Regions from separate parts of the Homo sapiens genome. Here all the other regions are linked to region 1. The links are contacts of gene promoters, found by promoter capture Hi-C in blood cells and fetal thymus (Javierre and others, 2016). All regions are on one chromosome and are shown on one strand. The core of a region is centred on a gene start or on the middle of the fragment in contact, and the rest is flanking DNA. Distances in the headings are between cores, read along the strand shown. Region 1 holds the start of CSHL1 (chorionic somatomammotropin hormone like 1). Region 2 overlaps TEX2 (testis expressed 2). Region 3 has its middle 3.5 kb from the start of TEX2. Region 4 has its middle 39 kb from the start of TEX2. Region 5 overlaps TEX2 (testis expressed 2).

Evidence for each region. Contacts are between HindIII fragments. The CHiCAGO score rates a contact against its expected background, and 5 or more counts as called.
Region 2: a contact is called between a fragment that was not itself captured here and the fragment with the promoter of CSHL1 in region 1, in 2 of 17 cell types (activated CD4 T cells and naive CD8 T cells). The highest score is 5.3, in activated CD4 T cells.
Region 3: a fragment that was not itself captured here is called in contact with the fragment with the promoter of CSHL1 in region 1 in 2 of 17 cell types (endothelial precursors and naive CD8 T cells); the score reaches 6.0 in endothelial precursors.
Region 4: a fragment that was not itself captured here is called in contact with the fragment with the promoter of CSHL1 in region 1 in 2 of 17 cell types (M2 macrophages and naive CD8 T cells); the score reaches 5.4 in M2 macrophages.
Region 5: a fragment that was not itself captured here is called in contact with the fragment with the promoter of CSHL1 in region 1 in 1 of 17 cell types (activated CD4 T cells); the score reaches 5.2 in activated CD4 T cells.

Annotation. Positions count from the first base shown.
Region 1 is chr17:63,909,864-63,912,563 of GRCh38, forward strand. It overlaps CSHL1 (chorionic somatomammotropin hormone like 1), which reads right to left and starts at 1,395. Exons shown (of 5, transcript NM_022579.3): 1 at 1,324-1,395; 2 at 882-1,061; 3 at 557-672; 4 at 299-463; 5 at 1-45. The coding sequence starts at 1,333. It overlaps LOC112268204 (a long non-coding RNA gene), which reads left to right and starts at 2,057. Exons shown (of 3, transcript XR_002958148.2): 1 at 2,057-2,396. The HindIII fragment of the contact is 23,854 bases long and covers 1-2,700 here.
Region 2 is chr17:64,197,666-64,200,365 of GRCh38, forward strand. All of the region lies in intron 2 of TEX2 (testis expressed 2), which reads right to left. Among named protein-coding and RNA genes, the nearest start is that of SNORA50C, 53 kb to the left of the region's middle. The HindIII fragment of the contact is 1,717 bases long and covers 456-2,172 here.
Region 3 is chr17:64,265,398-64,268,097 of GRCh38, forward strand. No RefSeq gene overlaps it. Among named protein-coding and RNA genes, the nearest start is that of TEX2, 3.5 kb to the left of the region's middle. The HindIII fragment of the contact is 6,256 bases long and covers 1-2,700 here.
Region 4 is chr17:64,300,641-64,303,340 of GRCh38, forward strand. No RefSeq gene overlaps it. Among named protein-coding and RNA genes, the nearest start is that of TEX2, 39 kb to the left of the region's middle. The HindIII fragment of the contact is 2,881 bases long and covers 1-2,700 here.
Region 5 is chr17:64,178,637-64,181,336 of GRCh38, forward strand. The region is part of intron 5 of TEX2 (testis expressed 2); the gene reads right to left. Among named protein-coding and RNA genes, the nearest start is that of SNORA50C, 34 kb to the left of the region's middle. The HindIII fragment of the contact is 979 bases long and covers 826-1,804 here.

The sequences.
Region 1 (2,700 bases), core at 145-2,644:
CTGCTTGAGGGTCTGCCCAGTCAGGTGGCTGCCGTCTTCCAGCCTCTGCAAAGTGAAGCAAGAGAAGGAGAGACCAAGCGCTTGGGCACTGTTCCCTCCCTCTCTCATTTATCCATTTTCCTCCTTCCCCTTCAGGGTGTAGAGAAAGGCCTGGAGGATTCACGAGGGGAAATGAAGAATAAGGTGAGTTCTCTTGGGTCAGCGCCTGACTGCTGAAAAGAGGGCAGCAGTGTTTCTCTCCCCCAGCCCTCGAAGCCAGTGGGCTTCCAGGATTGGGGACCCCTGGTGCCACCCTCACCCCCATCAGCATTTGGATGCCTTCCTCTAGGTCCTTTAGGAGGTGATAGTCATCGCTGTCCGAGGTGTCATACACCAGGTTGTTGGTGAAGGTACTCCTGAGGAACCGCACGGGCTCCAGCCGCGACTCGATGAGCAGCAGGGAGATGTGGAGCAGCTCTAAGTTCTGCAGGGGAAGGACCGGCAGTGGCTGTGCTGCCCGGGGGCTCTGACCACAGGTCTCCCCCATCCCCGCCTAGGGGAGACAGCATCCACTCACGGATTTCTGCTGCGTTTCCTCCATGTTGGAGGATGTCGGAATAGAGTCTGAGAAGCAGAAGGAGGTCTGGGAGTCATGCAGGAATGAATACTTCTGTTCCTTTGTGATATAGGCTTCTTCCTAGGGGAAGGACCCCCCACCAAGAAGGACCACTGCTTTCTATGCTGGAGACCAGCTCCCACTGTTACTCTTCTGGGAACCTGGCTCAGCCTATGCTCATCTGCCTGCATTTTCGCTTCAGAAAACAACCCTGAGCTCCTTAGTCTCCTCCCATTACTTCCCCAGTGGGGGAAAGTCACCCCTTCTTGCCACCCCTGACCCGCACCCATTCCCCAAGAGCTTATAAACTCCTGGTAGGTGTCAATGGCCAGCTGGTGTGCGCGATGGGCTTGGAGCATAGCCTCTTTAAAAAGCCTGGATAAGGGAACGGTTTGGACGGCACCAGCCTCTTGAAGCCAGGGCAGGCAGAGCAGGGCAAAAGCCAGGAGCAGGGACGTCCGGGAGCCTGGGGAGAAACCGGAGGGCAAGAAGGGAGCCGCAGAGCAAGAGGCCAGCACTCTCCCTGTTCCAGGAGCTGTTTTCTTTTTCTCTCTCTCCATCCCTCCAGGGACCAGGAACATTCAGAGATTGGCCAAATATCTGGCCTTAGATGGCGATATTCACATTCAGAAGCCCCAAACCTGAGGTTAGTGCCCCCGTCCCATCTGCAGGGCGCCGCCTCTCCCCTCAGGACACGTTGTGCCCAAAGGGATTTTAGGGGCGCTTACCTGCAGCCATTGCCGCTAGGTGAGCTGTCCACAGGACCCTGAGTGGTGCGGGGAGTCGGGCCTTGGGATGCTGGAGCTGGTCTCTTGTGGGCCCTTTTTATACCCTGGCCCCTTCTCTCTCGCTGTTGCCCCCACCTGTTTCTGTGCACATTTATGCATGGGGCCACTGACGGGCTTGTGCTAATGGATAATTTGGAAGCTCCTCCCACACATGCTGGCATCATGTCCCCTGGCTTGTCATCTTTCCCTTCCCACCGTCACCAGCGTTGTGAGGGTTGTGCACAGAGTGTCAACCACAGACACCACCCAACTTGTCCTCTCTTTAAGGTTCAGGTGGGTGCCCTCTGGCAGCAGGCCATGGTGGCCAACCTGAATGCGGAGAAGGATGTCAGGATAGCCAGTCCTTGAGACCCCTATCGACCACATCCCACTCTCTATCCTATTCCTTTCCTCCTCCCCGCATGTTTAACCTCCACCCACCAGACAGAATGTGTGTGTTGGGAAAAGGGGCCAAGCACAGCCAATAGATTGTGGGGGTTGTGAGCATGATTCAGTCCTGAATTCCACTTCTGCTGACGACTCCTGGGCCCACCTGAGTCAGCTGGATGCAGTGCTAACACTGACCACTAGAGGGAACCAACCCCACACTTTGATCTCCCCTTTCCCTGAGCCTTGGGGCGGGGCGGAGGGAGGGGGTTGGGTGGGGGGCTCCCCCAGGTCACTGGGGACGAAGAACTCAGACTCTCAAGGTATTGCCCCAGCTCCCTGGACCTGCAGCAGAGACACAAACCAAGAAACCGAAATCCCGGGAACAGACACGGACCACAAGCGCTTCCTCCCATAGCCCTGAAACCATCAGAGAATCTCAAAGTTGGAAGAGCTCTTGAAGATTTGAATCTCTTCCCCAGCTTTGGAACTCAAAACACATCACGCCGAAAGATGCCCTATCCATCCATGGAAGCCCGTCCTCTTTTTTCTCCTCCTCCTTTCCACACCTGTATAGAGCCTATCCAGTTGCGAAGGGCCTGCCTGTGCATTCTCACGTCTGACCTGCCACTTGTCTTGTGTAGGAGGTATGATTATCATCCCATTTCACATATCAGGAGACTGAGGCTCAGAGAGACTGATTGCATGAGCTACCTCAGCCAGGGCAGCAGATCTCCACAGCCTTGCTCTTCCCACTTTGTGTCATTTAAAGTCCTTTCTCCAGGCCGGGCACGGTGGCTCATGCCTGTAATCCCAGCACTTTGGGAGGCTGAGGTGGGTGGATCACTTGAGGTCAGGAGTTCAAGGCCAGACTAGCCAACATGGCAAAACACCAACTCTCTAGAAATACAAAAGTAGCTGTGTGTGGTGGCGCAAGCCTGTAATCCCAGT
Region 2 (2,700 bases), core at 64-2,563, 290 kb after region 1:
CTCCCACCTCAGCCTCCCAAGTAGCAAGGGCTACAGATACGTGTCACTACACCAAGCTAATTTTTTTAAAAAGATCTTTGTAGAAATGGAGTCTTGCTATGTTGCCCAAGCTGGTCTTGAACTCTTGGTCTCAAGCAGTTCTCCCACCTTGGCCTCCCAAAGTGCTGGGATTACATGCATGAACTACCACACCCATCCTCTAACAAGCTTTTAATACTATTAATTTCCCTCTAGGCACTGTATTACCTGCAATTTCTGATAGGTTGTATTTTCAGTTTCCTTCAGTTAAAAATATTTTCTATTTTCCCTTATGACTTTATCTTTAGGCCCACAGGCTGTTTAGAAGTATTTTGCTTAATTTCCAAATATTTGAGAAATTTTCAGATATCTCTCTTACTGGTTTTTAGTGTAATTTCATAATAGGAAACAGGCTTTGTATAATTTCAATTCTTTTAAGCTTGTTATATGGTCTATCTTGGTTCCAAGTGCAGTTAAAAAAAATGCATTCTGCTGTTGAGTAGGGTTTTCTATAAATATATTTATTTGTCTTTTTAAGCACAACCATTTTCACCAAAGATCTCCTGACACAGAACACACAGCTTTCTTCTTATTCAATTTGGTTGCAGAAAATACTGTCTTACATATATAACAGGTTTACCAGGGCTAAAGTTCTAAAGGCAACTAGATTAATAAAGAACTTGAAGCAGATATAATCGTTTTTCTAAGATACTTCAGAGGTTGTTTATGCTTGCAGAGCTACTAAAACCAAGAAGAATCCATGAAGGGCGGGGGGAAGTTGGAGCTGATGAGAACTCTATTAGATCAAAACAGCCACTTGTTATCAGTGTCATTTATGAGCCATTTGGCCATACAGTCCCTGCATGCAATTGCTCTTCTTGAATCATTTCACTCTGAGCACACATCTGCTGGCTAGAGTAGAGGCTACTTGAGAATATGGATTATGTGTGATACTGCCTTCGTCCATCCTAATACCTAAGCTGAGATGCTCAGCATTTATTTAATGGCTGTTTTTGAATTATGATAATCACAATTTGATATAAGATAGACATTACTGCGACAAATCACCATATAAAATATTTTTCGTTATTTCCAGGTACATAGAATTACAGATACATGTACAAAAGCCAGTAGAATTAACATGATACTGGCACCAAATGAGAAAAAAAGGATTAACATGATACTGGAATTTCAGACAAAAATCCCTGCATTATGTTTATCAACCACTCACCACCAGACTAGAAGGGCTAAAGGAGAAAAAAAAGACAAGTATTATATTACATGAAACTGTTCTCCAAGAAAAGGACAGTCTCTGAGAAATAGAGTAAAGTAAGCTGTGGGGATTTTTCCCATTTGAAACTGCTGGGATTGTACAGGTTAATTATCTGATTTATGAATAAGAGAAACTTAGGGATAAAAGTTGTTTCTCTCCAATTGCTTTCATTTCGTCTTTCCTAAATCAGAAAATGCAGACTTGTCCAGGGAGGTGCTGTACAATGGAAATATTAATATAATGTGAGCCATAAATGTGATCATGAAAATATGTAATTTTATTTTTACTTTATTTTTTTGAGATGGAGTCTCGCTCTGTTGCCCAGGCTGGAGTGCAGTGGCGTTACCTTGGCTCACTGCAACCTGCACCTCCTGGGTTCAAGCAATTCTCCTGCCTCAGTCTCCTGAATAGCTGGGATTACAGGTGTGTGCCACCACGCCCGGCTAATTTTCGTATTTTTAGTAGAGATGGAGTTTCACCATGTTGGCCAGGCTGGTCTCAAACTCCTGACCTCAAGTGATCCACCCACCTTGGCCTCCCAAAGTGCTGGGATTACAGGCGTGAGCCACTGCGCCTTGCTGAAAATGTGTAATTTTAAATGGTCTAAGAGCCACATTAAGAAAGAAAAAGCAGGTAAAATTAATTTAAACAATGTATTTTATTTAAATTCATATCAAAATTATGATTTCAACATGTAATCAATATTAAAAATTATTACTGGTATTTTACATTCTGTTTCATACCAAGTCTTCAGAATCCAGTGCGTACTTTACGCTTAGAACACATCTTGATTCCAACTAGCTACACTTCAAGGGCTCAACAGCCACATAGGGCTCAGGACTAGTATATAAGAGACAGTTCAGGGCCAGTTATTGGGTTCAAGCTTTTTAGCCCTAGACCCTTGGCTCAACTATGAATAGAATGGGCAAAGCCTTCCTTTCTCTTCTTGTGCATGCTTTCAACACACTCAGTCTTAGTGATAAGAGACAGTCATTCAGTACATGGCAGTTTTCTGCCATTTTATTAGATGCTTTGCATAATTAAATGAGAGAAGATAATCTAAGTAATCACCTAATGAAATCTATTGTAGAAATTCAAAATCCCTTTTAAAAGTTAACCTGCAATATTAAAAACTCAGAAATATTAATAAGAGTATTCTATGTAGGAGGCTTTTGAAAAACTCATAGTTCTATAGGAAAATTAAGATAATTAATAGACAAACATATCATTTTTTTAGCTTATTCTTTTGATTTTTAGACTTAGAAAACAAAACAAGACATACAGGCATGTGTGTTGAGATACATACACCAGCTCATCTGTTCACAGGTCAGTTTCAGGTGCTGAGCTGTTACTCTGCCCCAGTCTAACCAACTGCTACTCAATTATTATTCCTAGGAAAATTCCTGTCC
Region 3 (2,700 bases), core at 17-2,516, 360 kb after region 1:
CCAATGGAGACACAGCCTGAAGCTCTCCTTGGCCACATCTTCAGCCCCCTGCCTCAGGGAGAGAGAGAGAGAAAGGGTAGGGGCCCTGGAGCTGCCCCTTGCAAAGGTCCTTGGAAGCTGGCAATGTGCCTCTCAGAGTGCCCACCAACCTCCTTTCCCTACCAAGCTCCACGTAAGCATTAAATTAATTAATACACTACCAACCAGATCTCAAACTAGAAGCCAGTAAGATCCAGCATGAACACTTAGAAGGATCCCTTCTTTTTGAAATCTGAGGAATTTGGATGCATTGAAAAATAAATGAACATATCATAACACAATAATGTTTCCTACCTTTTTTTTTTTTTTTTTTTTTGAGATGGAGTCAGCCTCTGTCATGTTGCCCAGGCGGGAGTGCAGTGGCGTGACCTTGGCTCACTGCAACCCCCGCTCAGGAGGAGAGCCCAAGAGTTTGAGACCATGTTGTCCAGGCTGGTCTCAAACTCCTGGTTTCAAGCAATTCTCCTGCCTCAGCCTCCCTGAGTAGCTGGGACTACAGGCACACGCCACCACACCTGGCTAATTTTTTTTATTTTTATTTTTAGTAGATACAAGGTTTCACCATGTTGGCCAGGCTGGTCTTGAACTCTTGAGCTCAGGTGATCTGCCCACCTCAGCCTCGGCCTCCCAAAGTCCTGGGATTACAGGTGTGAGCCACTGCGCCTGGCCTGTTTCCTACCTATTAAGAGGTTACTATGTGCCAGGTACTATGCCAAGTCCCTGGAACATAGCAGTTCACTGAAACCTTACAGTAACTCTTTAGGGTAGATATGACCATTATTTTCTCCTTTTTATGGATGCAGAAACTGAAGTTCACAGATTAGTGATGTGTCCAGGATAGCAGGGCTAGTTGAAGGAAGAGCCAGCATTCATGACCGTAACCACCAGGCTTTTTTGAGATGGGGTCTTGCCATGTTGCCAGGGCTGGTCTCAAACTCCTGGGTGCAAGCGATCCTCTTGCCTCAACCTCTCCCAAACTGCTGAGATTACAGGCGTGAGCCACTGTGCCTGGCTCAAATCATGCTTAAAAGAGTGATTTTAGAGCTTGGCATCTGTGACTCATTGTAGTACCTCTGAAAAAGGTTAGGGATTGTGAGGCTAAATTCAGATATCAAGCAAGATTCCTTACTTTGTCCCCCAGATAGCTACTCTATATGTATAGCATGTACCAAGTGATCTAAATTTTTTCACCTAGAGTAGGATCTTAAGTCACAGAAATGCAAGCCCAAGCTAATACTCTCCCCTCTTTCTCTACCCCCAACCCCTCAACCCTCATGCCAGGCTCTCTTGAAACCCAGGTTTCAACTATCAGGTTAAGCCCACATAGGTTCTGATATACTTGAAAGATTCCCAATTATTGCATTTCAAGATAATCCCTATTTTCTCACCAATTTCTAAACAAACCAAAAAATGCTCTAAGATTTTATTTTTTGTTTTGAAACAGGGTCTTTCTCCGTCACCCAGGCTAGAGTGCACTGGCACACTCATGGCTCACTGCAGCCTTGACCTCCTGGGTTCCAGTGATCCTCCCACCTCAGCCTCCTGAGTAGCTGGGACTACAGGCATGCGCCACCATGCCTGGCTAATTTCTTTCTACTTTTTGTAGAGATGAGGTCTTGCTGTGTTGTCCCAGGCTGGTCATGAACCCTTGGGCTCAAATGATCCTCCTGCCTCGGTATCCCAAAGTGCTGGGATTAGGCATGAGCCAGTATGCCCAGCCTAAGATTTTTAATTCTGTTTTTGACATTGCATTCTTGGAGACAGAAATGGTTAAGAAGTACAGAAAACCAAAAAGTTGATCCACTTGTATATCTAACAAAGATTAGGGATCATCATGCCACAAGCCACACCATTAATGAGCAATCACTGTGCACTCAGTACCAGGTGGCGGGCTGAGTACTGGGGATAGAGATGAAGGCACTTGTAGATGCTAGATCTAGTAGAGAAACTGACACGTTGATAGACCATTATAGGCTTCCTTAGAGGGAAGCCCAGGAGCCGTGGGGACACAGAATAGGCACTTAGAACCCTTGGGGAACCCAATAATGTTTTTAGGGGTGGCCAGATGAAGTTCATTATGAAGAGAAGCCAGAAAGTTTACAAAAACCCAAGTAAGAGTCACCAAACCCAAGGGAGAAGAGATTGAAAGAGAGAGCAGTCAACAGCAACAGATGCCACAGAATGGTCAAATTAGAAGAGGCCTGAAAGTATGCTCTGGGATTTCGAAATTAGAAGATTAGGGTCATTGACACATGCAGCATAGATGTGGCTGGAAATGTAGAGGCTCCCTAGAGCTGGGCTGAGGAGAAGAGCTAAGAAAAAAGAAGAATCGGCCAGGTGCAGTGGCTCACGCCTGTAACCCCAACACTTTGGGAGGCCGAGGTGGGTGGATCACTTGAGGTCAGGAGTTAGAGACCAGCCTGGCCGACATGGTAAAACCCTGTCTCTACTAAAAATACAAAAATTAGCCAGACGTGGTGGTGCATGCCTGTAATCCCAGCTACTCGGGAGGCTGAAGCAGGAGAATCGCTTGAACCCGGGAGATGGAGATTGCAGTGAGCTGAGATCATACCACTGCACTCCAGCCTGGGCAACAGAGTGAGACTCCATCTCAAAAAAAAAAAGAAGAAGAAGAAGAAGAAGAATGAAGAGACTGTGCAG
Region 4 (2,700 bases), core at 171-2,670, 390 kb after region 1:
TGAAGGATGAAGCCTGTGTGTTTCGTTCTCCCCAGACACTCAGCTAACGGGCAGGTCCTCTCAGCTGACAGCATCTCACCCGAGATACTAACACCTACAGTGTGGGCAGGGGACTGGCCGCCCACCGCACAGAATGTTGCCCGAAGCTCAATGTTCTTAGCTGTCATATTTCATGTTTTCACCCTTTCCTCCTCCATCCATCTCTGGCAAGCAAGGGCACCCTGGCAGAGTTTCTTGAAGTTTGCCTGGACAGTTCATTCCTGCCTTAGAATGGAAAAGGCCGCCGGGCGCAGTGGCTCACGCCTGTAATCCCAGCACTTTGGGAGGCTGAAGCGGGCGGATCACGAGGTCAGGAGATCGAGACCATCCTGGCTAACATGGTGAAATCCCGTCTCGACTAAAAATACAAAAAATTAGCCGGGCGTGGTGGCGGGCGCCTGTAGTCCCAGCTACTCGGGAGGCTGAGGCAGGAGAATGGCGTGAACCCGGGAGGCAGAGCTTGCAGTGAGCTGAGATCGTGCCACTGCGCTCCAGCCTGGGTGACAGAGCAAGACTCCGTCTAAAAAAAAAAAAAAAAAAAAGGAATGGAAAAGGCCATTATTACCTCCCCTGTGCTCCAGGATCTACAGTGTAGCTGGGAAAGAGAAGTTTCCAGGAGGGAAGACTGCCATGACCAAGTCCAAAGGAGGACAATGTTCATTCAAATGTTCAATATGCTCATCTTCTGACCCACAGCTACCGTTCTGGAAATCGATCCTAGAGAATACTTAGACATGTGCATAATGCTATTTGCAAGGACTTTCCCTACTGTTAGAAAACAAACAAACAAACAAAAACCTATTAACAGGCAACTGGTTAAATAAATGAGGGTCCTTCCATACTGTGGGATACCAGGCAGTTAAAAATAATGAGGCGAAACACCCAAAACGATAAGACAGACCTGTATAGACAATAAATAAATATCTGCTGTTAAATGAGAATAGCAGGCAGAGGAAAAATATCCCTGTACAAAACAATCCTGTTTATGTAAAAGGAAATAATTTATTCAATCAATATTCACTGAGGACCTACCACATGCCAGATACTGTGGATAAAAAGGCATGCCACACAGAGCCCCTGTCCTCATGTAACACACATAGCCAGGGTGGATAAATAAATAGAAAAAAGACTGAGGCTGGGCACAGAGGCTCATGCCTGTAATCCCACGACTTTGGGAGGCCGAGGCGGGTGGATCACCTGAGGTCAAGAGTTCGAGACCAGCCTGGCCAACATGGCGAAACCCCCGTCACTACTAAAAATACAAAAAATTAGCCGGGCGTAGTGGCGGGCGCCTGTAGTCCCAGCTACTTGGGAGGCTGAGGCAGGAGAATGGCGTGAACCCGGGAGGCGGAGCTTGCAGTGAGCCGAGATCCCGCCACTGCACTCCAGCCTGGGCAACAGAGCGAGACTCCGTCTCAAAAAAAAAAAAAAAAAAAAAAAAAAAAATTAGCCGGGCGTGGTGGTGGGCGCCTGTAAATCCAGCTACTCAGGAGGCTGAGGCAGGAGAACAGCTTGAACCCGAGAGGTGGAGACTGCAGTGAGCTGAGACCATGCCGTTGCACTCCAGCCTGGGCAACAATAGTGAAACTCCATCTAAAAAAAAAAAAAGAAAGGAAACACACACACACACCACACACCACACACACACACACACACACACACACACACACACACGGAAACTCACCATTCAACATTCCTTTGATTCCTGAAGAGCTTTGGTATTAAAGAGTTTCCCATGAAAGGTCTGGACAGTCTTAGAGAGGCCATGCTTAGTAGTGATTCTTGGCCCTGGCTAAACATTAGAATCACCTGGGCAGCTTTAAAAACCTCCCAGTGTCCAAATTCACCCCAGACCAATTAAATGAGAATGTTTGAGGATGGGACCCAGGCATCAGCTTTTTAAAGATCTCCAGGTGATTCTAATATGCAGCTAACATTTGTAAACCTCTGCTCTAAGTTGTTGGATAGCAGGGGAAGTGGGCTAGTTGTAAAACCTCTGTCAACCAGCTGTGTGATCATGGGCAAGTTGCTTGACCTCTCTGAACTTTATTTTCCCTGCTCTAAAATGGGATCATACCTTCTTCACATGATAGAATGAGGCTTATTGAGAACATTATCAGAAAGAGCTCAGTCAATTGTAAAGCATGATATAAATATAAGATAATATTTTATTCTCTGACTTGGTTATCAGCTCAGAAGTAATAGGTGGAGCTGGGGGTCAGGCAGAGCAATGTTGAGTTAATGGTTAACAGAGAGAAAATAAAAGAAGCTGATTGGCTGGAATAGGAATGGCAGAGAGAAGATCAAAGGGCCCCCTAAACCATTTGCACTAAGGCAGGATCTACCCCTGTAGGATTCCAGGGTGATGCTAATGCCTGAGATTACATCTTCATCTTATTCCTAAAGCTCTGTTATTTTCTGTCTTTTTTTTTTGAGACAGAGTCTTGCTCTGTCACCCAGGCTGGAGTGCAGTGGTGCAATCTTAGCTTGTTGCAATCTCCACCTCCTGGGTTCAAGCTATTCTTGTGCCTCAGCCTTCTGAGTTGCTGGAATTACAGGCGTGCACCACCATACTCAACTAATTTTTGTAATTTTAGTAGAGACAGGGTTTCACCATGTTGGCCAGGCTGGTCTTGAACTCCTGGCCTCAAGCGATCCACC
Region 5 (2,700 bases), core at 65-2,564, 270 kb after region 1:
GCCTTGCAGAAACAATGAGCTTTGGAAAGCAAAGATGAAAAGATTTAGAAATGCAGAATCTGTGAATTATTCCCCCTTTCCCCTCCCTCTATGGCTACTATAAGTGCATCTGTTCTGCCCTCATGGGCTGGCTGCAGCTATAACACACACCAGACACTCTCATCACCTCCACGCTTTGTGCTTGTGCATTCGTGCCAGTGCTATCCATTCTGAGCAGCTGTGACTGTGCCCACATTGAAGCTGTGTGCCTGGGTCAGTGCTGTGGTGCACACGTTGTTGCTTGGTGTGTATGGATTTGAATCTGCAGATCCAATTGTTTGTGAGTACTCCCAAGGTCTACAGCACATAGCTCCGTGCACTCATTCTGAAGCTTGGTGTTCACCAGTCACTGAGCTGTGCCTGAGCCAGCACACTGCTCAGTCCCACCCGTCTGCCAGTCTTGCTGAGAGGTGAGGCCAGCTAGACTTCCTGGGTGGAGTGGGGACTTGGAGAAATTTTCTTACAAGAGGATTGTAAAATGCACCAATCAGCACTCTGTAAAAATGTACCAATCAGCACTCTGTAGCTAGCAAAAGGATTGTAAAATGCACCAATCAGTGCCCTATAAAACGCACCAATCAGCGCTCTGTAAAATGTACCAATCAGCACTCTGTAAAATGCACCAATCAGCAGGATCCTAAAAGTAGCCAATCGCAGAGAGGATTGAAAAAAGGGCATTGTGATAGGACAAAAACAGAACATGGGAAGGGACAATAAGGGAATAAAAGCTGGCCACCCTAGCCAGCAGCAGCGGCAACCTGCTTGGGTGCCCTTACACAGTGTGGAAGCTTTGTACTTTTGCTCTTCACAATAAACCTTCCTACTACTCACTCTTTGGGTCCGTGCCACCTTTAAGAGCTGTAACACTCACCATGAAGGTCCGAGACTTCATTCTTGAAGTCAGTGAGACCACGAACCCACCAGCAGGAACCAACTCCACATACATTGCCACAGCCTGTGCCCTCTCTTGCTGGGGGCCTAGGGTTCGCTTACGTTTTTCAATCACATGTCACTGCATGACTTTATATTTTACAGGAGTCCTTCACATTTGAGTTTTCAAAGGTCTCCTTTATGAACGTTGGTGAGTCTCATTTAAAAAAAAAAATGGTTTAAAAAAGAAAGCATGCTGGTCAGCCCATTTCAGAAGACATGGATCTGCTTCACCCTTCTTAATGGACATGGATTATTCTCTCTGGGCTTTTCGAGTGCTGTGACGTTTTCTGTCATTAACCAAGACATTTTCCACCACTAGGTCCTGGATGGAAGGGCAAGAGTCTGCAGCGGTGAATGCTTGGCCATGCCATAACTTGCACTGTTTTTTTGAATCCCTTTTTTCTCTGACTGAACATCTCCTTCCCAGCCCCAAGGGTAATTCATTCAGCTTTTCTGAGGTTACTGTCTTTGAGTCCCATCCGATTATTTATACAGACTTCTGCATAAACACTCATCCAAGGGCAATGACCACCTGGCCCCTCAGACAGTACTAAGTTGCTGCCCACGTAAGACACCACGTGTCTTATTTTAGATTTGTAGGTTATACAAGAGAATAAGTTACTTTTTCCCTTCCCTAGAGGGAGCATCTACCCTTTATTAGCCTTTCTTTACAACCCTAGTTACTCACAGGAAACAGTTTTAGCACAAAATAGCAAGAAACAAAGGCTATTTCACAATGTATGTCCAAGCCAATGGCATATGATGTGGTAAACAAATTTCTGAAATAACCGACAAGCAGGTTGTTTTTTCAACAGTTCCTTTTTCCAAAATAAGCTTCTCTCCACAGACTCATTGGGAACAAAGAAAAATTCCAGAGCAGAACATCGATAATGCATCAAAGAAGCTTTTATGAGCAAAACCTGGATTCAACAGCCTGCTAGGAAGGCCCAACGAATGTCATAAAAATTTAAGAGTTTAAAGAAACAATGTGCATACATTTCCTAATATTGCCATTTGGCTATAGGATGAAATGTGTGGAGGATATTCATTTCGCTGTCTCAACTGTATAAACACACTAAGAAATGGTAACTTTCCAAAAATGGCTTCCAAATAAGTGTAGAGAAAATTCAATGGTTTGAAGCTGAAGCAAGCCCATCAAAACTGCGTCACTCTTGGGATATGTGTTATTTAAAACTAACCTCTAAAACTAAAGTAGGACAGATTTACTGAAGTCTGTGGTGTAACATTTCCTATTACAAATGGCCAGGAGGCCAGCCCAGTTTTTCTATTACAAAGAGTGTGTAGTGCCCCCACTCCTTTTTGGCCGCACCCAGTGTACCGCCAGGGGGGTTGCACAAGGGACAGTGTGGTCCAGGAGATGACACAGCGGAGGACCCTACTCCTGTGTGTTTCTTTCCCTTGATTATAAAAACAATGCATATTCACTGCAGAAAACACCCATAAACCTGCTACTCAGATTTAAAACATTTTAAACATTATTTAAAACAGTTTTACTATATTTTCTTTCAGTCTCTTTTCAGTGTATATATACATTTAAGAATACAGAACTTTTAAAAAGCAAAATTAGGCCGGGCGTGGTGGTTCATGCCTGTAATCCCAGCACTTTGGGAGGCCAAGGCGGGCAAATCACGCAGTCAAGAGATTGAGACAATCTTGGCCAACATGGTGAAGTCCCGTCTCTACCAAAAATACAAAAATTAGCTGGGT